4 separate regions of the Homo sapiens genome follow, and regions 1, 2 and 3 are each linked to region 4. Evidence: promoter capture Hi-C in 16 types of primary human blood cells and fetal thymus (Javierre and others, 2016). All regions are on one chromosome and are shown on one strand. The core of a region is centred on a gene start or on the middle of the fragment in contact, and the rest is flanking DNA. Distances in the headings are between cores, read along the strand shown.

The links. The method cuts DNA at HindIII sites, captures the fragments that hold promoters and counts their contacts. A CHiCAGO score of 5 or more calls a contact.
Region 1: a contact is called between a fragment that was not itself captured here and the fragment with the promoter of APLP2 in region 4, in 1 of 17 cell types (non-activated CD4 T cells). The highest score is 6.7, in non-activated CD4 T cells.
Region 2: a contact is called between a fragment that was not itself captured here and the fragment with the promoter of APLP2 in region 4, in 3 of 17 cell types (naive CD4 T cells, total CD4 T cells and non-activated CD4 T cells). The highest score is 7.1, in naive CD4 T cells.
Region 3: a contact is called between a fragment that was not itself captured here and the fragment with the promoter of APLP2 in region 4, in 4 of 17 cell types (naive CD4 T cells, non-activated CD4 T cells, total CD4 T cells and 1 more). The highest score is 6.6, in naive CD4 T cells.

What each region holds. Positions count from the first base shown.
Region 1 is chr11:129,742,838-129,748,828 of GRCh38, forward strand. No RefSeq gene overlaps it. Among named protein-coding and RNA genes, the nearest start is that of TMEM45B, 70 kb to the right of the region's middle. The HindIII fragment of the contact is 2,083 bases long and covers 3,420-5,502 here.
Region 2 is chr11:129,793,316-129,798,849 of GRCh38, forward strand. All of the region lies in intron 1 of LOC124902793 (a long non-coding RNA gene), which reads right to left. Among named protein-coding and RNA genes, the nearest start is that of TMEM45B, 20 kb to the right of the region's middle. The HindIII fragment of the contact is 2,155 bases long and covers 2,791-4,945 here.
Region 3 is chr11:129,773,356-129,779,226 of GRCh38, forward strand. All of the region lies in intron 1 of LOC124902793 (a long non-coding RNA gene), which reads right to left. Among named protein-coding and RNA genes, the nearest start is that of TMEM45B, 40 kb to the right of the region's middle. The HindIII fragment of the contact is 1,016 bases long and covers 3,982-4,997 here.
Region 4 is chr11:130,068,517-130,073,771 of GRCh38, forward strand. APLP2 (amyloid beta precursor like protein 2) reads left to right here and starts at 1,378. Exons shown (of 17, transcript NM_001142276.2): 1 at 1,378-1,566. The coding sequence starts at 1,462. It overlaps LOC107984432 (a long non-coding RNA gene), which reads right to left and starts at 1,133. Exons shown (of 2, transcript XR_001748444.2): 1 at 948-1,133; 2 at 1-597. RefSeq lists enhancers at 69-569, 570-1,070 and silencers at 987-1,216, 1,607-1,736, 1,807-2,266. The HindIII fragment of the contact is 4,769 bases long and covers 1-2,819 here.

The DNA.
Region 1 (5,991 bases), core at 3,211-5,710, 320 kb before region 4:
CCAGTCTTCTCCAGCTTTTGTAATTTCTGAATTTTGAATAGTGAAAAACACATCACCATCCCGAGGTTGTAAAGGTTTTAACGTGGAAATTCTTGTAAGTTTTCATCTAGTACTCAGATTTTTTTTTAATATTTAATCCTTTCATTCATTTGGAGCTTTTTTTTCTTCTTTTTTCAACTTTTTCTCACACAGGGAAGGGAATTCCTCATGTCCTCTCTCTTTATCCAGCCACCCTCTCACCTCCCCTTTTATCCTAACCTGAACTCGGTCCTGGCCCTTCACTTAGACATTACAACAGCTGCCAGCAATGTAGACTTGAGGAAAAGGCAGCAACCCTCAGGCTCCTCCCAGGGCGATCGGAATCTCTGCATGAATCTGAGCTGTCTGGGATGAAGCGAGGTTTGGAGGAATTGAAGGAGGCAACTGAAAGGAACCCAATGGCAGCGACCCCAAAGACGTTGCTTCAGCCACTTAAAATTCTTGCCAGCGCTGCACCGAGTCGCTTGGAAAGGGAGAGAAACGAACTTAAAAAGCAATTCCAGGGCTCCAACATGTGTTCTTCGTTGGTAGGATTCAGGAGGAGGATTTGGAGGACCCTGTGGGAGTATTCTTTCACTACTCTCCCCTAATCCTCTCCAAATCGCCTGGGCTCTACAGCTGTTGGTTAGCCAGATAAACTATTTGTTCAATTACTCCTGGCCTGGATGGGGCGGCTGGCCTCAAAGGCTTCAGGCTTCATAATTCGGGCTACTTCAATCAGCCAAGGCCCTCCCAGGGCTGCCTCCAGGAGACGGGGCCTGTTTGAAGACAGCAGCGCCCTAGCAAGTCTTGCCTTTCCACTCGCTTTTCATCTCCACCCAGACTGGGCTGCGGCGGCCGACACCTCCCCACGGACCCCGTGTCGGGGAGCAGAGTTAGCTGCGGGAACGATGCCAAGGCAGAGAAGCAAGGCGATAAAATAATTGCAAATGAAAGGGAGATTAGCAGGCGCTGTCGGGACAAATGCTTCCAAAATGGTTCCTGAAATCTCGGGCGGTGCGGTCTCAAAGGAGACGTCTCTGCAGCTGGGGTCTCCATGGCAATGGGGCAACAGACACCCGGCTGGGGGCACTCTCTGCAAATGTCAGCGCCAACAAAACACCAGCCACCGCGAGGAGATGACAGACTGGGTCACCTTCGCTTCATGGAAATGGACTGGTCATTAACACAATTTTATTTTCCCCATTTGTCTGCTCTCCTTCCCCATTCCCTTGGCTTCAGTGGAGTCTTACTAATAAATGGTCGACAGCTGTTGAGAGATGGGTCCAGGCTACCAGTTGCTCTGAGAAATGCGCTGTTTGGGGTTGGATGTCCTAGGCTGCCGGGAAGCTCTGAGCAGCCTTGCCGTGTTCTCTCTTCAGCTGTGTTCTCATCCCGGCTCCTCTGCCCCAGCCACTTCCACTGGTTGCCTTTTCCCCAAAATTTTACTTCAGTTTCTCATGAGATCCTGAGACAACTCTAAGAAGTGGCTTGATGCCGGGCGCGGTGACTCACGCCTGTAATCCCAGAACTTTGGGAGGCCGGGATGGGTGGATCACCTGAGGTCAGGAGTTCAAGACCAGCCTGGCCAACATGGTGAAACCCCGTCTCTACTAATAATACAAAAACTATCCAGGCACATTGGCTCACGCCTGTAATCCCGCACTTTGGGAGGCCGGGGTGGGCGGATCACCTGAGGTCAGGAGTTCAAGACCAGCCTGGCCAACATGGTGAAACCCCGTCTCTACTAATAATACAAAAACTATCCAGGCACATTGGCTCACGCCTGTAATCCCGCACTTTGGGAGGCCGGGGTGGGCGGATCACCTGAGGTCAGGAGTTCGAGACCAGCCTGGCCAACATGGTGAAACCTCGTCTCTACTAATAATACAAAAACTAGCTGGGCGTGGTGGCACACGCCTGTAATCCCAGCTACTAAGGAGGCTGAGGCAGGAGAATCGCTTGAACCCAGGAGGCAGAGGTTGCAGTGAGCCGAGATCGTGCCATTGCACTCCAGCCTGGGCGACAGAGGGAGACTCCGTCTCAAAAAAAAAAAAAAGAAAGAAAGAAATGGCTTGAGATAACTGTACCCAATTTCTACCCCATAGTCTCCATCATGTCCCTAAGACCACAGCAAATCAACAAAATCTAAGTAATCGTGGTGGGTTGCTGTGCAAGAGTGCATTCAACCTCAGTCTCAAGCTTCGTCCTTCTAATGAAAGTGCCACTCTTGAGCAGCTGCCATGTAAGAATTCCAGAACCACTGCTAACTAGCGACTCTACCTAAGGATGATAAGATCAGCGACCCTGTCTTCACATTTCATACCAAGTGGGAGCATATTCTGTGGGGTGGTTTTCCCAGAGGCAGTGGCTTCCTAAATATGCAGCGCATGACCCACCTTGGAAGAATTAACTCATCATCCAGTTACTGACTTGGAGTCAAATAAGCCAGACTCAAATCTCAGCTCCTCCATTCAAAACAAAAAACCTACTATGTGCAAAATTAAACTGTTAAGTTCCCTGAGAGTAGAAACTACATCATTTTTTTAATCTCCAACACCTAGCAAAATGCTCAGCATGAGTGTCAAAAAAAAAATTCTGTAAAGCAGAGTACTCCAAGCTTTCTGAATCATGTTATCATTATCAGTAAGTTTTTAACATGGCACCTTCAGAATATGTATATTTATTTAAATGATATGAGCTATTCGGCCAGGCACGGTGGCTCACGCCTGTAATCCCAGCACTTTGGGAGGCCAAGGCAGGCAGATCACGTGGTCATGAGATCGAGACCATCCTGGCCAACGTGGTGAAACCCTGACTCTACTAAAAATACAAAAATTAGCTGGGCGTGCTGGTGCATGCCTGTAATCCCAGCTACTCGGGAGGCTGAGGCAGAAGAATCGCTTGAACCCAGGACGCAGAAGTTGCAGTGAGCCGAGATAGGACCACAGCACTCCAGCCTGGCAACAGAGACTCTGTCTCAAAATAATAATAAGACGAGGAAGGAGGGGGAGGAGAAGGAGAAGATGAAGGACTATTTTAATACAAGGAGAGCATTATAGAAATATAGAAAAATAGAAACTGAAAAGGGATAATATTAAAAATAAGTAGAAGTTCTAAAACTTCCTTCTTATGCTGCAACGGATCATCTTGTCCTTCCCGTTTTAGACCGCCATTGTAAAGGACACAGTTTCTAGACTCAAGAGGCTTGCAGTCTAGTTGAAAGACTTGAAGCAAAGAATAACCGTGGTACCGCTATAAAATAAATAGTTAACAGTTGAGAGGGGGGTGTGATCACCAAGGGTACAGATGGGCTTCACAGAGCCCATAACCCCCACCAAAATTGAATGCCAATGTGTATAGGTGTGTGCCTAGGTGCATTTTCCTCAGGAAAGGTCCAAAGCTTTCACAGGATTCTCAAATGGATCTAGATCACAGAAAAATTAGAGGAGAACTGGCTAAAAGGGAGAAAAGAACACGAAGAGCCAAAAGGCCTATGCACAAGCATTCTGTCCAAAGTCATCCTGCTCTTGCAGATAAAACGATCTAGACCTAATAGAACACCGCTCCGCCAGTCACCCAGGGAGATTAAGGTTTTCCAAACACTTAATCTCTAGGTTAATGATTTCTTTTTAACTTCTTTTAGCAGTGGCCAGTTTTCAAATGACATCCTACATGGAACCCATGTATATAAAAATAGATCAAAGTGAAGGTGTTCTGGGTGAAACAGGGTTGGTCCCAGGTCATCACCCGTCGTGGTCCCCAGCCTCAGCTTCCCTGCGTTGATGACTCCAAAGCTGAGTTCTTCTTTGAATGGGGCTGTAAATCCCTGCTCTGGGCCTTCTTGAGGCTATGATGTAATTAATGATTTGCCTTAATTTGTGTCCTCGTCATTCAGTTCATAAACCATTCAAAATCACTCCCCCTGCTTCAGCTTCCACCTTTTTTCCTTCCTTTGCCTCTTTTGACAAAGTCGCCAATAGCTCCAGCTAACTGTTCTCTACCACGTCTAGTCCAAGATCACCCTCGCCAGAATCCCCTGGCTTGTGTGTTAAAGACACAGATCCCTGGGCATCATCGCAGACCGATGGACTCAGAACCGCTGAGCACGGATCCCACCATCTGCAACTTCCACAGGCTCCTCAGATGATTCTCATGAGCCGTTAATGGTTAACTACACAAGGCTGTGCACAAAGCCCCACTCAGCCAGCCAACTTCCCACGTGTGGGGTCTTAACCTACTGAGTGTCATCAAAATGGCCTCCACTTTCTTGAGCCCACCCAAAAGCTAAAGCTAGAGCCAGGAGGGGATGAACATTCCGGGCCTGTGTGTCCATGGCTTCAAGGTGAACAATGACTGTGTGTCCTCGGAGGTGAAAATCCTTTCTCCTGTCTGGATGCTCAGAGGCAGGCATTTTTCTTTTAGGCTGGAGTTAAATATAGTGCTTAATGCTTTGCAGACTTCTGGAGGGAAACAGGAGCAGCTCAGAGCAGTGGAATGTACTGGGCTGGAAGTCAGTCATCTACAGCCACAGCGCAGGCAGACATCGAAGCCTGGGGGAAGCTCAACCCCAGAGTCGGACCACTTGCTTTAGGGGTATTTATTCAGAGGAATGGGACAGCCCTTGAACGTTTTGCATTTTTCCTACAGTTTCAAAGGCAGCAGTGGCCTAAGCCTGTGTATAACTTGCCAGGTAAACTGGCATCATGAGAATTTCCCTGAGCTGAGCGGTGACAATTGTTTTTGCCATCTTGATTTAGAAGCCAGAACAATTCAGAGAGTTGTAGATAGTGGGGGGGAAAGTCATAAAATCCGTTCTCCATATTCTGCCCCCTTTCGGGCCCAAATCAAGTTTGGCTTCTTTCATGAAGCCACTCACATCCCCCTGTCTCCTTCTTTTGAACTCCTATGACACTTATATATTAGTGGCATATATTTTAACAAAGTTGCTTTTTTTTTTTTTTTTAATCTTTGAGACAGAGTCTTGCTCTGTCACCCAGGCTGGAGTGCAGTGGTGTGATCTTGGCTGACTGCAACCTGTGCCTCCCTGGTTCAAGTGATTCTTGTGCCTCAGCCTCCTGAGTAGCTGGGGTTACAGGCGTGAGCCACCACACCTAAGTTTTGTATTTTTAGTAGAGACAGGGTTTCACCATGTTGGCCAGGCTGGTCTCGAACTCCTGGCCTCAAGTGATCTACCCACCCCTGCCTCCCAAAGTGCTAGGATTAGAGGTGGGAGCCACTGCACCCGGCCTCTATTTTTATTTTAGGTTCAAGAGGTACATGTGTGGGTTTGTTCCATGAGTATCTTCATGATACTGAGGTTTGGGTTTCTAACGATCCTTTCACCCAAGTAGTGAACACAGTACCCAATAGGAAGTTTTTCAATTCTTTCCCCACTCCCTCCCCTGTTTTTTATTTTTATTACTTTGCTTTTGTCTCCATGTCCCCATATCATAAGCCTCTTGAGAATGGAAACCACGTCTAAGCTTCCTTGTATCCCCCTCAGTGCCTGTCATGGTGCTGGGTACAGGGGCACCAATGAGTACCTGTTGAGATGAACAGGGACCACCTTGAAGGGAGAGGGCTGGGGAAAGGAGAAGGCAGGCACAGTAAGAGCTCATGTCCTCTGCATACTGGTTACATGCTGGTGCTGTCATCGGCATTTAACATGTGCTAATCTGCTTAATTTTCACAGCTGCCTTATGAGGTGAACCCACCTTACAGAACAGGTGATTTAGGCACAGAGATGTTACCTGAATGGCCCAAAGTCACACAGCTACTAAGAGGCAAAGCCAGGATCTGAACCCAGAGAGTCCAGCTCCAGAGTCCATGATCTTCCATGTCTCCCACTACTGCAGAAGGACAGCTATCCCCTGGTGGCATGTGGGCAGTAATCAGGCCAGAGAAACGGAGGAAGTATATACTTTCCAGAAAAAAATAAACCAGACCTAGAATCCTTATCCCAACTCAACT
Region 2 (5,534 bases), core at 2,618-5,117, 270 kb before region 4:
ACTTTACCAATGCATCATAACTATTTTCCTGGTCAATAAATATAAATCTAATTCATCATTTTTCAATGTAACACATCACAGAAATACAATAAAAGGCATGCTATATTTAACTACTCCCATGTTGACAGACATTTGCTATCTTGCACAATGCTGCAATAAGGATCTTTAAGATTATTCTTATCTACTAATTCTGTACAGTGGAGTTCCTAAACTGATTATTGGGCAAATTGAATGGTATATTGAGATTTTTCTTTAACCCATCTTTAATGTTTGTTTATTTATCATGTAAAGCAAAAGGGGAGATATTCTGCTTTGGTTAGGATATGGAATTAGCTATATATAACAAAAACCTCAAGTAACTGTGACTTACATAGATATAATTTTATTTATCTTTCCACCTAACAGTCTGGAGGTGGTCATTCCAGGTGGGCACTAGTGGACACTAGTTTAGTAGTCTACGCTAGTAGGAAACCACTGTGTGAAACTATCCAAGAATCTAGCTTCCTCTTGCCCTAACATTGGTCTAAGATGACCCATTACCATCTTCCAGGCAGCAGGAGAGGGGAAAGGGAGAAGATGGGCACACTCTCTTCTTTTCAGGACACCCCTCGGAGGTTGCCTGTATCATTTCCACTCACAGCCCATTGGCCTGAACTTAGTCACATAATTCCGCCTATCTAAAAGGAAGGCTGGTGTGTTAGTCCGTTCTCAAACTGCTATAAAGAACTACCTGAGACTGGGTAATATATAAAGAAAAGAGGTTTAATCAACTCACAGTTCCACAGACTATATGGGAGGCATGACTGGGGAGGCCTCATGAAACTTACAATAATGGAAGAAGGGCAAGAGGGAAGCAGCAAAATCTTCACATGATGGCAGGAGAGAGAGAGCAAAGGGGGAAGTGCCACACACTTTTAAACAACCAGAGGCCTCATGAGAGCTCATTCACTGTCACAAGAACAGCAAGGGAGAAATTTGCCACCATGATCCAATCACCCCCCACCAGCCCCCTCCTGCAACACTAGGGATTACAATTCAGCATGAGATTTGGGTGGGAACACAAAGCAAAACCATATTTTTCCACCCCAACCCCTCCCAAATCTCATGTCCTTGTCACATTTCAAAATCAATCATGCCTTCCCATCAGTCCCCACAAGTCCAAAGTCTTATCTGAGACAAGGCAAGTCCCTTCCACCTATGAGCCTGTAAAATCAAAAATGAGTTCATTACTTCCAAGATACAATGGGGATACAGTCATTGGGTAAGTGCTCCTGCTCCAAAAGATAGAAATTGGCCAAAACAAAGGAGCTACAGGTCCCATGCAAGTCCAAAACCCAGCAGAGAAGTCATTAAATTTTAGAGCTCCAAAATAATCTCCTTTGACTCCATGTCTCACATCCAGGGCACACTAATGCAAGGGGTGGGCTCCCAAGGCCTTAGGCAGCTATGCTCATGTAACTCTGCAGGGCTCAGCTCCCACAGTTGCTCTCAAGAGTTGGCATTGAGTAGGCCTGTGGCTTTTCCAGGCACACAGTGCAAGCTGTTGGTGGATCTACCATTCTGGGATCTGGAGGACGGTGGCCATCTTCTCACAGCTCCACTAGGCAGTGCCCCAGTGGGGAAACAGTGTGGGAGCTCCAACTCCACATTTTCCTTCTGCACTGCCCTAGTAGAGGTTCTCCATGAAGACGCTGCCCCTGCAGCAGACTTCTGTCTGGATATCCAGGCATTTCTATACATCCTCTGAAATCTAGGCAGAGGCTCTCAAACCTCAACTCTTGCCTTCTGTGCACCTGGAAGCCCAATGCCACACAGAAGCCACCAAGGCTTGGGGCTTGCACCCTCTAAAGCAATGGCCCATGCTATACTTTGGACCCTTTAGCCAAGGCTGGAGCTGGAGTGGCTGGGACACAGGGCGTCATGTCCCAAGGCTGCACAGAGCAGTGGGGCCCTGGACCTGGTGCACAAAACCATTTTTCCCTCCTAGGCCTCCAGGCCTGTGATGGGAGGGGCTGCCATGAAGGTCTCTGAAGTGCCCTGGAGGCACTTTCCCCGTTGTCTTGGCTATTAACATTTGGCTTCTCTTTACTTATGCACATTTCTGCAGCAGGCTTGAATTTCTCCCAAGAAAATGGGTTTTTCTTTCCTACAACATGGTCAGGCTGAAAATTTTCCAAACTTTTATGCTCTGCTTCTCTTTTAAATATGCTCTGCTTCTCTTCTCATTTGCTTATGCAAATGAACATAGGCTTTTAGAAGCAGCCAGACCACCTCTTGAATGCTTTGATGCTTATTAATTTCTTTCAGCAGATACCCTAAATCATCTCAAGTTCACAGTTCCACAGATCCTTAGAGCAAGGGCACAATGCTGCCAGTCTCTTTCTAAAGCATAGCAACAGTGACCTTTGCTTCACTTCCCAGTAAGTCCCTCATCTCCATCAGAGACCATCTCAGCCTGGACTTCGTTGTCCATATAACTATCAGCATTGTGGTCAAAACCAATCAACAAGTCTCTAAGAAGTTCCAAACTTTCCCTCATCTTCCTGTCTTCTTCTGAGCCCTCCAAAGTGTTCCAATCTCTGTCTGTTACCCAGTTTCAAAATTGCTTCCACATTTTCAGGTATCTTTATAATAATGCCCCAATTCTCCTGGTATGAGTTTTCTGTGTTAGTCAGTTCTCACACAGCTATAAAGAACTACCTCAGACTAGGTAATTTATAAAGAAAAGAGTTTTAATAGACTCACAGTTCCACAGGCTATACAGGAGGCATGGTTCGGGAGGCCTCAGGAAGCTTACAATCATGGCAGAAGGGTGGAGGATAAATGAGCATGTCTTCGCATTGCGGCAGGAGAGAGAGAGCAAAGGGAGAAGTGCTGCACACTTTTAAACAACCAGATTTCGTGGGAACTCACTCATGATCATGGGAACAGCAGTGGGAAATCTGCCTCATGAGCCAATCACCTCCCACCAGGTCCCTCCCCCAAGACTGAGGATTACAGTTCAACATGAGATTTGGCTGGGGACACAGAGCCAAACCATATTAGCTGGAAAAAATAATAATACTTATTCTGGATGGCTAGCACCAGGATGGCCAAGGAGAGATTAGATAATGAGAAACTCTATGATAAGATCTTCCAAAATAATAGTCAATTATACTAGCAACACATAAACCACTTCCCATTGAATTAAAATGCCATCCTTGCCTTTGCTAAGTTCCACATATAATTACATTCATTTAAGAACACTAATTTTTCTTGCAATATTGGTCACTGCAAGGAAAATCTGTGTGTTTTTGCTTTGTAAGATTTGTGTGTTTTTGCTTTGCAAGCCCAGCACTAGGTTTTGGGAAATGACTGTATTGTGAAAGGAAATCAGAATTCTTTCTGAGCCTCTTTCATTGTCCCTAATATAATGACTTCCAGAAAATTGTGTATCTGGAATCAAAGAGATTTAACAGCAAGACTCCAGGTTTTCAAAATATAATCGCTTTTTAAATGCTCATGTTTTAAAATGTTCAGTTCTTTGGATTAAATGTTCAGTTCTTTGGATGAAAGATGCTATATTCCCTCGGTGTAAATGAATAAAAAGATTATAAAAAGAAACCCACTAATCTGTCCCACTATTATACTAAAACAACTTGGTAATAATTAACTGGTATTATTGTATTATTCTATAATTGATTATTAGTAATTTACCTTTTAACTACTTGATTGAAGATTAACTTGACCTGTAAAACGAACCTAAACAGTCAGACTTACTTTTTCAAAACTGGTTTGTCACCCAGGTGCAGTGGCTCACACCTATAATGCCAGCACTTAGGGAGGCCAAGGCAGAAGGATCAATTCAGTTCAGGAGTTTGAGACCATCCTGGGCAACATAGGGAGACCTCATCTCTATTTAAAAAAAAAAATTAAAATCAGGGAAAATGGAAGCTAGGAGACAGAGCTAATGTGCAGCTCCCACATGGATGGACAGAACAGCATGTGGAGACTCACACCATGATCTTTTGCTCTAAGAACCATGGCAGGAACATACCAGGAAAAGCGAAAAAATTCACAGAGCCTTTGAAAGAAGCAGCACGCCAATGCAAATTTCATGAAACAGGCAAAAAAACTGTGAGTTCCCAAAGTGTGAGAAAGGGAAAACTTACCTCTGAATACACATCCCCACTGGGGAATCCGAAAATCCAGATCACAGGAGAAGAATTTAACCTTACCTAGAGATTAAATGGATTTAGGGATTCACACAAAGTAGAAAAGTAGAAGTAGCATTGGGAAGTGCCTTGGATGTACTCCAAGTCTCCAGCTCAACCCCAGGGAAGCCATCCCTGAGTATATCTTACAGAGGCCCTCAAGGAAGGCAGCCAGTGGAATTGGGGAAGGGCCACAGGGTGAAGAAACCTCCCAAGTGAAATTGGTAGTGGTTTCAACTGGGCACAAATTTTCTTGAGTGGAGTCCAGGTGATGAGTGGGAGGTGTTGTGGATACAAGGTGCTGCCAATGAAGTAGGCAGATGGAGAGAGGCGAGGTCTGAAAGCCGTGCTTGCTTTCTCAGTGGGGTAAGCTCACAGCCTGGGGCAAGGTCTGAATGGTCCACTGCAGAAGAGAGGCTGGCCTGACCAATGGTGTGGGAGCTGGGTCAGGCCTCTTGCTACCAGCTATCTCCTACTACCCTGGCAAACTATATGATACAGTGGAGGTAGCCAAAATCCTCTTGGGAACATAACCCCATTGGCCTGAGAACTATCCTCCATCACTCACAGTGGCTGCAGCAAGCCCCACCCAAGGAGAATCTGAGCCTAGACCCTCTTAACTCTGCCCCAACCTGATGGTATTTTCCTACTTGCCCTGGTAGTTGAACACAAAACTCAGAAACTCTTGGGAGCTTTATGGCCCTGCCAATCACCTGAGTATCCAAAATACTTACCCTGACCATCTTAGGGCAAGCTTAGAGCCCCCTACGACTACTGCAGCTGGTGCTCTCTTGAAAGCACCATCTCCTGGCTAGAGGCCAACCAACTCAGGCCACCACAGTAACTCATGACAGAATAACCCTGATCCCAGGAAGGAAAAGACAACACCTAATTCCACTTCCTGAAACATCCTGGCTAACCAAAGGTCCTGTGTGTGTTCATGTGACAACTTTACCACTAGTGTAACCAGCATTACAGAAAGCCAGCACACTAAACATATCTACAACCAAGGACTTTCATAGAGTCTACCTCACTCCCCTGCCACCTCCACCAGAGAAGGTGCTGCGATCCAAGGATGGGAGACCTGAAGAAAGACCACATCACAGAACTCTGCAGACATTCCCCAGCACCAGCACATAGCCTGGTAGCTCCACTGGGTGGCTAGGCCTAGAAGAGCAGTAAGAATCACTATAGTCCAGCTCTTAGGAAGCCCCAGTCCTAGGGGAAAGGGAAGAGCACCACATCTAAGGATCACACCATGGGATAAGAGAATCTGAACAGCAGGCCTTGAGTTTCAGATTTCTTCACTGAAATAGTCTACCCAAATGAGAAAAGAACAGA
Region 3 (5,871 bases), core at 3,240-5,739, 290 kb before region 4:
GGAGTTCAAGACCAGACTGGCCAACATAATGAAACCCTGCCTCTACTAAAAATACAAAAATTAGCCTGGCATGGTGTTGGGTGCCTGAAATCCCAGCTACTCAGGAGGCTGAGGCAGGAGAATCACTTGAACCCGGGAGGCAGAGGTTGCAGTGAGCTGAGATTGCACCATTGCACTCCAGCCTGGGCAACAAGAGTGAAACTCTGTCCCCCGCAAACAAAAAAAAAAGAAAAGACATACCAAAAGGCAAAAAACAACTTGAAAAAGTGGAGCAAACATCAGAACGAGACTCAGACATGTCAGGGATGTTGGAATTATCAGACCAGTAATTTAAAACAAACATGATACATGTGTGAAGGGCTCTAGTAAATAGCATGCAAAAACTAATGGACAGGCCGGGTGCAGCGGCTCACGACTGTAATCCCAGCACTTTGGGAAGCCACGGCAGGTGGATCTTCTGAGGTCAGCAGCTTGAGACCAGCCTGACTAACCTGTCTCTACTAAAAATACAAAAATTAGCCAGGCAGAGTGGCGGGCACATGTAATCCCAGCTACTCCGAGGCTGAGGCAGGAGAATCGCTTGAACCCGGGAGGCGGAGGTTGCAGTGAGCCGAAATCACGCCATTGCACTCCAGCCTGGCGACAGAGCGAGGCTCCGTCTCAAAAACAAAAAACAACTGTTGGACGATAGAAGCAGAGAGATGGAAATCCTAGGAAAGAACCAGAAAGAAATGCTAGAGGTCAAAAACGCGGTAATGGAACCAAAGGATGGCTCTGATAGGCTGATTGGTAGACTGGACATGGCTTAGGAAAGAATCTGAGCCTGAGAATATCTCAATAAAAATATCTATAACTGAATGACAAACAGAAAAAAATGGGGGAAAGAAGGACAAAATATCCAAGAACTGTAGGACAACTACAGAAGGCGTACATATTTGTGCTAGAAATACCAGGGGAAAAAAAAGGAGAGAAAGGAACAGAAAATATATTTGAAATAATTATGACAGAGACTCCAAATTAATGTCAGACATCAACCCATAGATTCAGGAATCTAAGACAACACCAAGCAGGATAAATGCCCCCAGAAACAATACCTAGGCATATAATTTGTGAACTAAAGAAGTCAAAGATAAAGAAAAAAATCCTTACATATTTTGGATATTAATCCCTTAAAGATACATGGTTTGAAAATATTTTCTCCCATTCCACAGGATTGCCTTTTCACTCTGTTGATGGTTTCCTTTGCCATGCCAAAGCATTTTAGTTTAATGCAATCCCAATTTTCTATTTTTGCTTTTTTGCTTGCATTTTTGGTGTCATAGTCAAAAAATAATTGCCCAGACGACTGTCAGGATTTTCCTGTTTTCTTTTTTTTTTTTTCCAGATGGAGTCTTGCTCTATCACCCAAGGCTGGAGTGGAGTGGCACGATCTCGGCTTACTGCAGTCTCCGCCTCCCAGGTTCAAGTGATCTCCTGCGTCAGTCTCACAAGTAGCTGGGATTACAGGCGCACATCACCATGCCCAGCTAATTTTTGTATTTTTAGTAGAGACAGGGTTTCTCCATGTTGGCCAAGCCAATCTTGAACTCCTGACCTCAGGTGATCCACCTGCCTTGGCCTCCCAATTGCTGAGATTACAGTCATTAGCCACCACACCCAGTCCTCTGTTTTCTTCTAGTAGTGTTATGGCTTAAGGTCTTACAGTTAAGTCTTTTGAATTTAATCCATTTTGAATTGCTTCTTGTATACAGTACGAGAGTCTAATTTCATTCTTCTGCATTTGAATATCCAGTTTTTTCATCACTATTTACAGAAGAGACTATCAGTAATTAAATAGTAAGGGGAAGCCTCCCAAAACAAAAAGCACCAGGCCAGATTGGTTCACTGGTGAATTCTACCAAACATTTAAGAAATAAATTATACTCATTTCAGAAGATAGACACAGAAGGAACAATTACTAACTCATTCTACAAGGCCCGCATCATCCTAACACCAAAATCAGACAAAGACTTCACAAGAAAACTGTCTACCAGTATCTCTGATGAACATAGATGCAAAAATCTCCCCCAAAATATTAGCAAATCAAACTCAACAATGTATAAAAACAATTATCCACCAAAACAACATATTTATCCTCACTATGCAAGCCTGGTTCAACATACAAAATCAATTAGGTAATCATCACATGGGGGGGCTGAGGAACAAATAGCACGTGATCATTTCAATAGTTGCAGAAAAAGCATGTGACAAAATCCTACATCCATTCATGATTTAAAAAAAACTCTCAGTAAACTAGGAATAGAGGGGATCTTCCTCTACTTGACAAAGCATATCTATTAAAAACCTACAGCTAACATCATACTTAATGGTGAGAATCATGAAGTTTTCCCACTAAGATCAGGAACAAGGCAAGGGTGTTCTCTCTCATCACTGTCTTTCAACATTGTAATGGGAATCCTAGCTAATAAAATTTAAAAAAAGGAAATAAAATATATACAGACTGAGAAGGGAAAAAATAAAACCGTGTTTGTTTGCAGATGTCATGATTACCTATGCAGACAATATAAAATAACCAAGAAAAAAAAACTTCTGGAATAAGTGATTATAGCAAGGGTGCAGGATGCAAGTTTAATATACAAAAGTCAGTCACTTTTCTTTTTCTTTTCTTTTAAGATGGAGTCTCACTCTGTCACCCAGGCTGGAGTGCAGTGGTGCGATCTCAGCTCACTGCAACCTCCGCCTCCCGGGTTCAAGTGATTCTTCTGCCTCAGCCTCCCGAGTAGCTGGGACTACAGGTGCACCACCACACCCGGCTAATTTTTGTATTTTTAGTAGAGACTGGGTTTCACCATATTGGCCAGGCTGGTCTCGAATTCCTGACCTTGTGATCTGCCTGCCTCGGCCTCCCAAAGTGCTCGGATTACAGGCATGAGCCACCGCGCCCAGCCAATCACTTTTCTTTATATCAACAATGAACAAGTGAAAACTGAAAAACATAATACCATTTATGTGCTCACTTTGGCAGCACGTATTCTAAAACACATAATACCATTTAAATTAGCACCCTGTAAAATGAAATACTTAGTTATAAATTTAACAAAATATGCACAAGATCTATGTAAGGCAAACTATAAAACCCTGATGAAAGAAATCAAAGAAAAACTAAATAAACGGATAGACAATTGATGTTCATGAATACAAGGACTCAATATTTTTAGGATGTCTGTTCTTCCCAACTTGATCTATAGATTCCAATGCAATCCCTGTCAAAATCCCAGCAAGTTTATTTCACAGATATCAACAGAGTATTCTAAATTTTATATGCAGAGCCAAAGCACACTTAATAGCCAATTCAATATTGAAAGAGAAGAACAAAGTTGGAGGACTGACACACCTGACTCGAAGACTTACTCTAAATCTACGATAATTAAGACAATGTGGTATTTGCAAAAGAATAAATCAATAGATCAATGGAACACAATAGAGTCCAGAAATTGACGCACATAAATATAGTCAACTGATCTTTGTCAAAGAACAAAGGCAATACGTTGAAGAAAAATAGAATGTTTGTTATAATAGACATCCACATTTAAAAAAAAAAAGAATCCAGACACAGACCTTACACCCTTCACAAAAATTAACTCAAAATGAATCGCAGACCTAAATATAAAACACAGACCTATAACGCTCCTAGAAGGTAATAGGACAAAATCTAGGTGAGCTTGGGTTTAGCAATAACTTTTTAGTTGTGACACCAAAGTCATGATCTATGAAAGAAAGAACTGATAAGTTGGACTTCATTAAAAGTAACAACTTCTGCTCAGCAAAGGACACTGTCAAGAGAATGAAAAGACAAGCCTTTGGGAGAAAATATTTGCAAAAGACATAATTGATAAAGGACTGTTATCCCCAATATACAAAGAATTCTTTAAAACTCAAAAATAAGATAACGAGAAACCCAATTTTTTAAATGGGCCAGCAAGCTTAACAGAACCTCACCAAAGAAGATAAACAAATAGCAAACAAACATATGAAAAGATATTCTACATCCTGTGTTACCATGGAAATACAAATTAAAATGATGATGAGATACTACTAACACCAATTAAAATGCCCAAAATTCAGAATACTGACACCACCAAACACTGGTGAGGATCTGTAGCAACAAGAACTCTCATTGCTGGTGGAAATGCAAAATGGTACAGCTACTTTGGAAGATACTTTGGAGGCTTCTTACAAAACTAAACATACCCTTACCATACAATCCAACCAGCACACTCCTTGGTATTTACCCAAAGGACTTGAAAACTTATGTCCACACAATTACCTACACATGGATACTTATAGAACCTAACTTTATTCCTAACTGGGAAATATTAGAAGAAACCAAGATGACCTCTAACAGTTAAATGCATAAATAAACCAGATACATCCAGACAAAAGGGTATCATTCAGCACTAAAATGAAATTATCAAGCCATGAAGCGACACGAAAGAAACTTAAATGCAAATTACTAAGTGAAAGAAATCAGTCTGAAAAGGCTACATACTGTATGATTCCAACTACATGACATTCCGTAAAGGCAAAACTATTAAGACAGGAAAAAGATCAATGGTTGCCAATGATTGGAGTGGAAGGAAGGGTGAAGGTGGGACACAGGATTTTTAGGGCAGTGAAACTACTCTGTATGACACTGAAATAGTGGATGCATGTCATTATACATGTGTTCAACCCCATAGAATGTACAGCACCAACGGTGAACCCTAATGTCAACTATGTCAATAAAGGTTCATCAGTTGCAACAAATAGGCCATTTTGGTAGGGGTTGCTGGTCGTGGGGAGGCCATGCATGTGTGGGTGCAGGTGAATATGGGAAATCACTGTGCCTTTTGCTAAATTTTGTTTAGAAGAGAACAGAACCCAACCTAGTATGTTCCAGTAGTAACAGTTATTCGCATGGGGGCTGAAAACATTAAAAACAGGTGGGTGGGGTCAGAAGCTTACCTGAGAGAAAATGGAAAGGAGATGAAAACAAAAAGGACCAAGGAACAAATGCAATGAATAGAAAACAAATATCAAGACGACGCATTGTAACCAAAGCATATTGGTAATCTTGATATTAGTTATAAATGTACTAAACAATTATAGACTACATACAAGAAACCCATTTTTGCTCATATTTATTTTATTTTGATTTTTTAATGCTGCACAAGACAATATCTATTTTTTCTTGTATTTATATGCTGCTATTTACTGAAAGTGAGAGGGACCTTATGTGGCCTTTTTCTTTTTCTGTAGGCCACCTTAGAGCTTTCTAAATTTGGAATACTTGATCAAGCTGAAAGAAAAAGGGAGTTTCACAAAATCAATGGGGGTGGGGAGGGGAAGGCTGCTTCATTAATTATGCCCTGTGGTGGTTGATTAACTGCTTGTACAATTGTTTCACTTTTAATAAATTACGCTTACAGTGCTCCTGCTGATGAAGGCACCTGAGCTGAATACAGTTACATCCGGGGTACAAGTGAAGGGACAGTGGCATTAGTGGCAGTTATATCCACTAGCAGGGCCAATTCTCAGAAAAGTCGCAGCCATGTGGGCCCTGTGGGGCTTGAGAGTAGCATCCTCAGGAATAGGTGATGAGCAAATTCTGGAAAGTGGTCCCAGAAGTCAGGCCTCGGCAGCAGAGCAGGTCTCAGGTGCTTGGCATGCAGTCGGCCTGCTGGCTGACACGATCTTGCCTGGGAAGCATGGGACACAGTTCATGGGCTGCTACTGGTGGGAGCCAGGGTAATGGGGTGCACATCCACCCTCCTGAAACAGGTCAGGGTCACTGTTCTCTTTGTCTAAGGTATTATCTGAGCTCGTGGTCTC
Region 4 (5,255 bases), core at 128-2,627:
ACCTGAGAGAGGTATGGAATAACTAGGGAGCGAGTGCCACAGTGGGAAACATCCCTCTGAGCAATCAGAAGCGATATTTCAGCCGACTGAGCCGAGGAACAGTGAAAACGCTTCCAACAGGCAGATGTTGGGGAGAGGACATTGCAGGCGCAGAAGAGTGTTAGGAAGGGCTGTGAAATGGAAAGGTGTCGTCTTGGAGGAATCGGGCAGAGCCAGTTTACCCACAGGGAACTGGGCATGTAGGGGAGAGTGGTGCAGAATAAGGCTGGAAAATCCCGAGTTCTTACAGGCGCACTCGTCTACTCCGCGGACAGTCTCTTCCTTTCTATTGTCAGCGTCCTGGGGGTAGGGTTGTGTTATGCATTTAGTTGAACCTGAAGGGACTAGTCCAGGTCTCTCAGAAGGCAGTACCTAACTCACAGGCGACTGAAAGGAAACAAGGCCAGCGGAGCCCTGGCGGTGGCGAGGCTGTGCCAATTGCTAAATGGGGCAGCAGGACGTTTTTCTCTACTGAAGTGGCAATGCCGCGGAGCAGGAAGGCAGAGTAGCAGGTCTCCCGCTAGTGCGTCTCAACCGAAGAAGCGGCGTGATCTCTTCCTAAAACACACGAGGAAGGGGGCCTGGGCTGTGAGGCCGGCGTGGTTCTTGCACCCCTGGTCTCTATCCCTGCCTGGGCAACTGCTGGGAAGGAAGGGTCGGCAAGAGGCCTAAAGACCGGAGGCCAAGGGTGCGGAGCGCGGCCGGACTCAGAGGCGAGGACCCGGCGGAGAGGCCTGGGCGGAGCAGGGCGGGAGAGGCGCGCCCTGAGTAGGGCTCGGGGGAGGACGATGGCTGCCTCCTGCGGTCCTCCCCCTGCCTCGGGGGACGGCCCTTGGCAGACCGTCCCGGACTCCTAATTCATCCTGTTTTTAATAAAACCATTTCCAGAATCAAAAAGAGGGCGGTACCCAAAGGAGTCTGAAGAATGCCCAGCAGGGGCAGGGGAGCGGGGCGTGCCCGTATCGGGAGGCTGAAGGCTGACGGACCAGCGCAGCAGGGACAGATAACCGCGCCGGGGGGCGGAGGCCAGAGCCAGCCCCGCGCCCACAGGGTTGCGGCCCCAGACCCGCCGCGCGCACGCCCCCGCGCCTGGCGGCCACAGGGTCCGGAGCGGGGGCGGGGCCATCCGCGGCCGGGGGCGGGGCCGGGCGGGGGGCGCGCGGTTGGACCGGGCGGGAGGAGCAGGCTCTTCCATCTCCTGATTGGGTCTGGACCGCAAGGGGGCGGGGTCTTGAGGGGTTCTGCGGGCCGGCATTGGGAGCCGCAGAAGGAGGGCGTGGTAATATGAAGTCAGTTCCGGTTGGTGTAAAACCCCCGGGGCGGCGGCGAACTGGCTTTAGATGCTTCTGGGTCGCGGTGTGCTAAGCGAGGAGTCCGAGTGTGTGAGCTTGAGAGCCGCGCGCTAGAGCGACCCGGCGAGGGATGGCGGCCACCGGGACCGCGGCCGCCGCAGCCACGGGCAGGCTCCTGCTTCTGCTGCTGGTGGGGCTCACGGCGCCTGCCTTGGCGCTGGCCGGCTACATCGAGGTGGGGACCGGGCGAACGCCGGAGAGTCGTCTCCTTCGCCCGCCGGAGGAGCGCGGACTGCGGGCGGGCAGCGGGGTCCGCGGCAGGGCGGGCCGGCGGTGCGGCGCCGGGGGTCCGGCTCTGCGGCGGGTCTGGCGCGCCCTCCCCCGCCCGTCCCTGCTTGGCGCAGTGCTTAGCGCTGGAGGTCGGGCTGCCTCAGCCGCCGCAGAGGCCAAATGAAAGGCGTCGGGGCTGCTGGGGGCGGCCGTCCGCCTCGGCCGACCCAGCCCCCAACCCGCCCGCGGCGCCGCCACCTCCTCCGGGGACCCAGTGCCCCCGGGCGCCCGCCCCGCCCTCCCCCGGGACAATGCCAGGGCGCTCCTCTCCCGCCGGAGTCCGCGGCTGGGCTTTCTCCAGGGGCGGCCCCGCGCGGACCCCGTACGCTCCCTCGCGCGGCACCGGGGCCTCGGCTCCGGGCCTCCCACCTGCGAGCGGCGGGCTTCGCCTTTGTTGCCAGGTGGACGCGGCCCCGGCCTTCGCGCGCGGCAGGGATGCTGCGAGCCCCGGGGGAGCTCCCGCGCCAGGCCGCCCGCTGCTCCCTCTGCCGCCTGGGGCCGGGTCGCGGACGCGCATTTTTTAAGTGGCGCTGTTTGCCTGCGTCCGTAGACCGAGGAAACCCGCTCTGGGTGCGTTGACCGCTTTCGTGAGGGTTTCAGTGAGTAGGGAAGGTGCCCGCGAAGGCGTGTAAACTGTTGGAAAAATCGTCCTCTTCGGGTGTCAGAATTCCATCAGTGGTTGTGCTTCGAGGTCGCACCCTGAGCATCCCCGCTGCGAGAAAGGCGAAGCGGCAGGGCCGGGGGTTGGGGAGGCCGCGGGAGGGGGCGGGGGCGGCGGGGTCCGCGGTGCGGGCCGGAGCGGGCAGCCTTGGAGGAGCCCTGCTGTGGCCGAGGGAGACGGCGAGCTTGATCTTTACTTCCCTTCTCGAAGTGGTGCTTGAACTGCTGGTCTGGAATGTGTAGTTCTGGTGTCGTTTATTTCTTCTCCCTCTTCGCTCTTTTAAAAATTACAACTGGTTTCTGCATACTTAGCTAATTTCAGAGAGACCTGAAGACTGGATTTGATTGGGCATTAATTGAGAGCTTTCTTTTAAAGACCTCAGGTTTAGAATATATTTACTTCTACAGAATGTTCAAGTATTTCCACGGGTAAAAATAAATCTAATAAAAAGCCTCTCTGATGGAACGGCTTAACACCTTTGTATTCATCCAGTTTAAAGCTTTGTGACTGTGAGGGTAAGAAAGGAGTTCAGCTTTAAAGAGAAATAGTTAACGTTTATCTACAGAGGATTTTGGATTGCGATTGTTTCAGTGTGTCCACACAATGGTCAGAGTTGTATCTGTGATCCCTGATATGTCGCATGAAAACAGCTAGGTGAGTGAGATGGGAAGAAAAAATAAAGGCTTTCGTATGGAAGATGGGACTTCACTAGTGGGTCGGGTGTCAGAAACCATCGTTCACACTCGCACTCCACTTCCCACTGCTATGACTAATTTGAGGCATTAGTGAATTCACAGTAGAAGACTCAGCAGTTTTAAAGAATTCGTTAATACTTGTGTAGCGGGAAAAAATAATATGAGAATTCATTGTTGTGTGTTAAATTTGATTGTTAGCCACAGCGTTGTTCAGTTGAAAAGTATGGTTGAAGAAAGTAGGAATTAAACATTTCTGAAAAATGGTTTTATGGTAACTCCTGTTCTTTGGAGCTGTATTTTTGCTCACACTTACTAAATGATCTTTCAAGGGGCCTTTTGTCAAGCTATCAGAATTTTATTCATATGAATATAATTTGATTTTGTTTATTTGCTGTCAGGCAAGGGACTGTCGAAGCTTAATTTAGATGAGAGTGGCCTAAATCAGGATGTCTTTGGGAAGGCCCTGATTGAGATTAGCGAAAGGGATTCTGGCCAAATCCCTGATCAAGTTGCTTGGCACAGAATTATTGATTGGCAAATCTTTAGTGTTGCTTGGTGTTGACTGAATTAATCTCTTACACCTGTTTAAAAAGAAAAAGCTCACCTCTGGACTCAGGGTCACTTCCTCTCTTAAATCCGAGACAAGTTCTCCTGTGTGCATGCTCCCATTTGGGACTGAGACAGTATTGTGCTGAAACCCCGCATACTGTGCAGTGGATGACTAGGCTCCTGAGAACCGGAACTTGAGTTTGTTCTGTCACATTTGAAAGAAAGAAGGCCATTTGATTGCCAGTTTTCTGGAAACTCAAACCCAAATTAAAGGATGTCAACTGAGGCAGAGTAGAGAAGGCTTTGTGTTGGTGTTTCTGACAGGTGGTATGGGAGATGTGTAATTGTACCTTGGAGAGAAACCTTGGTGTGCTTCTGATAGGAATATCGTCTTTTTTTTTTTTTTTTTTTTGATACGGAGTCTCGCTCTGTCCCAGGCTGGAGTGCAATGGTGGGATCTCTGGGCTCACTGCAACTTCCGCCTTCCGAGTTCAAGCGATTCTCCTGCCTCAGACTCCCAAGTAGCTGGGATTGCAGGCGCCTGCCACCACGCCCAGCTAATTTTTGTATTTTTAGTAGAGACAGGGTTTCACCATGTTGGCCAGGCTGGTCTGGAACACCTGATCTCAGGTGATCCACCTGCCTCGGCCTCCCAAAGTGCTGGGATTACAGGCGTGAGCCACAGCGCCCGGCCCGTTATTTTTATCATAACTATGTTTTAAAAATCTTTTGATAAATACGATAAACTTCAGTTTTATCAATTAGTTCCTCCTTTTGTAGAGGGAATTTGTTTTACCATCTAAAGCCAGGCTTTCCCAGGGTGTAGCCACAAGCCACATGTGGTTATTGAGTCTGTAGGGTGACTAGTGTGAATGAGGAGTGAATTTTTCATTTTATTTAATTTTAATTAATTTAAGTTTACATTTAAAATCTGATTCAGTGGTTGGAAAACTTTTAACTGAAATAATTTGGTTATGCGAATTTACTTTTAAACTGTACATTTTATGAAATCTAAATGTAGATCAAGTATTTCCTATGAAAATTTAGCTTCTGAATTGAGATGTACTGGAAGTGTAACATACACATCAGATTTTGAAGATTTAATACAGAAGAATTAAAATCTCAATTTTTGTATTGACTAAATTGAAACAATACTTTAGACATGGGCTAAATAAAACATTAAAATTAATTTCACTTGTTTCTTTTCACTCTAATATGGTTCCTAGAAAATTTAATACTATGTATGTGGCTCACATTGTATTTCTGTTAGATGGTGCTGATTTAAAATTTTGCTTAAAGTTGGTCCTGCATATGTTTTTATTAGCAGAATTTTTTAATATGTTCCTATATTTTTCCACATAAAGTCTTGCTGGAAGTTGGCCCAACATGCTCTTAAGTATTTTTGTTAGAACAATTTTGAATGTGTTGATTTTTAAACTTTTTCAATTAAAAATGTTTTACTTAGAAATAACTTTAATCACCAGGCGCGGTGGCTCACGCCTGTAATCCTAGCACTTTGGGAGGCCGAGGTGGGTGGATCACGAGGTCAGGAGTTCGAGACCAGCCTGAGCAACATGGTGAAACTCCGTCTCTACTAAAAATACAAAAATTAGCTGGGCGAGATGGCGTGCGCCTGTAATCCCAGCTACTCAGGAGGCTGAGGCAGGAGAATCTGGGAGGTGGAGGTTA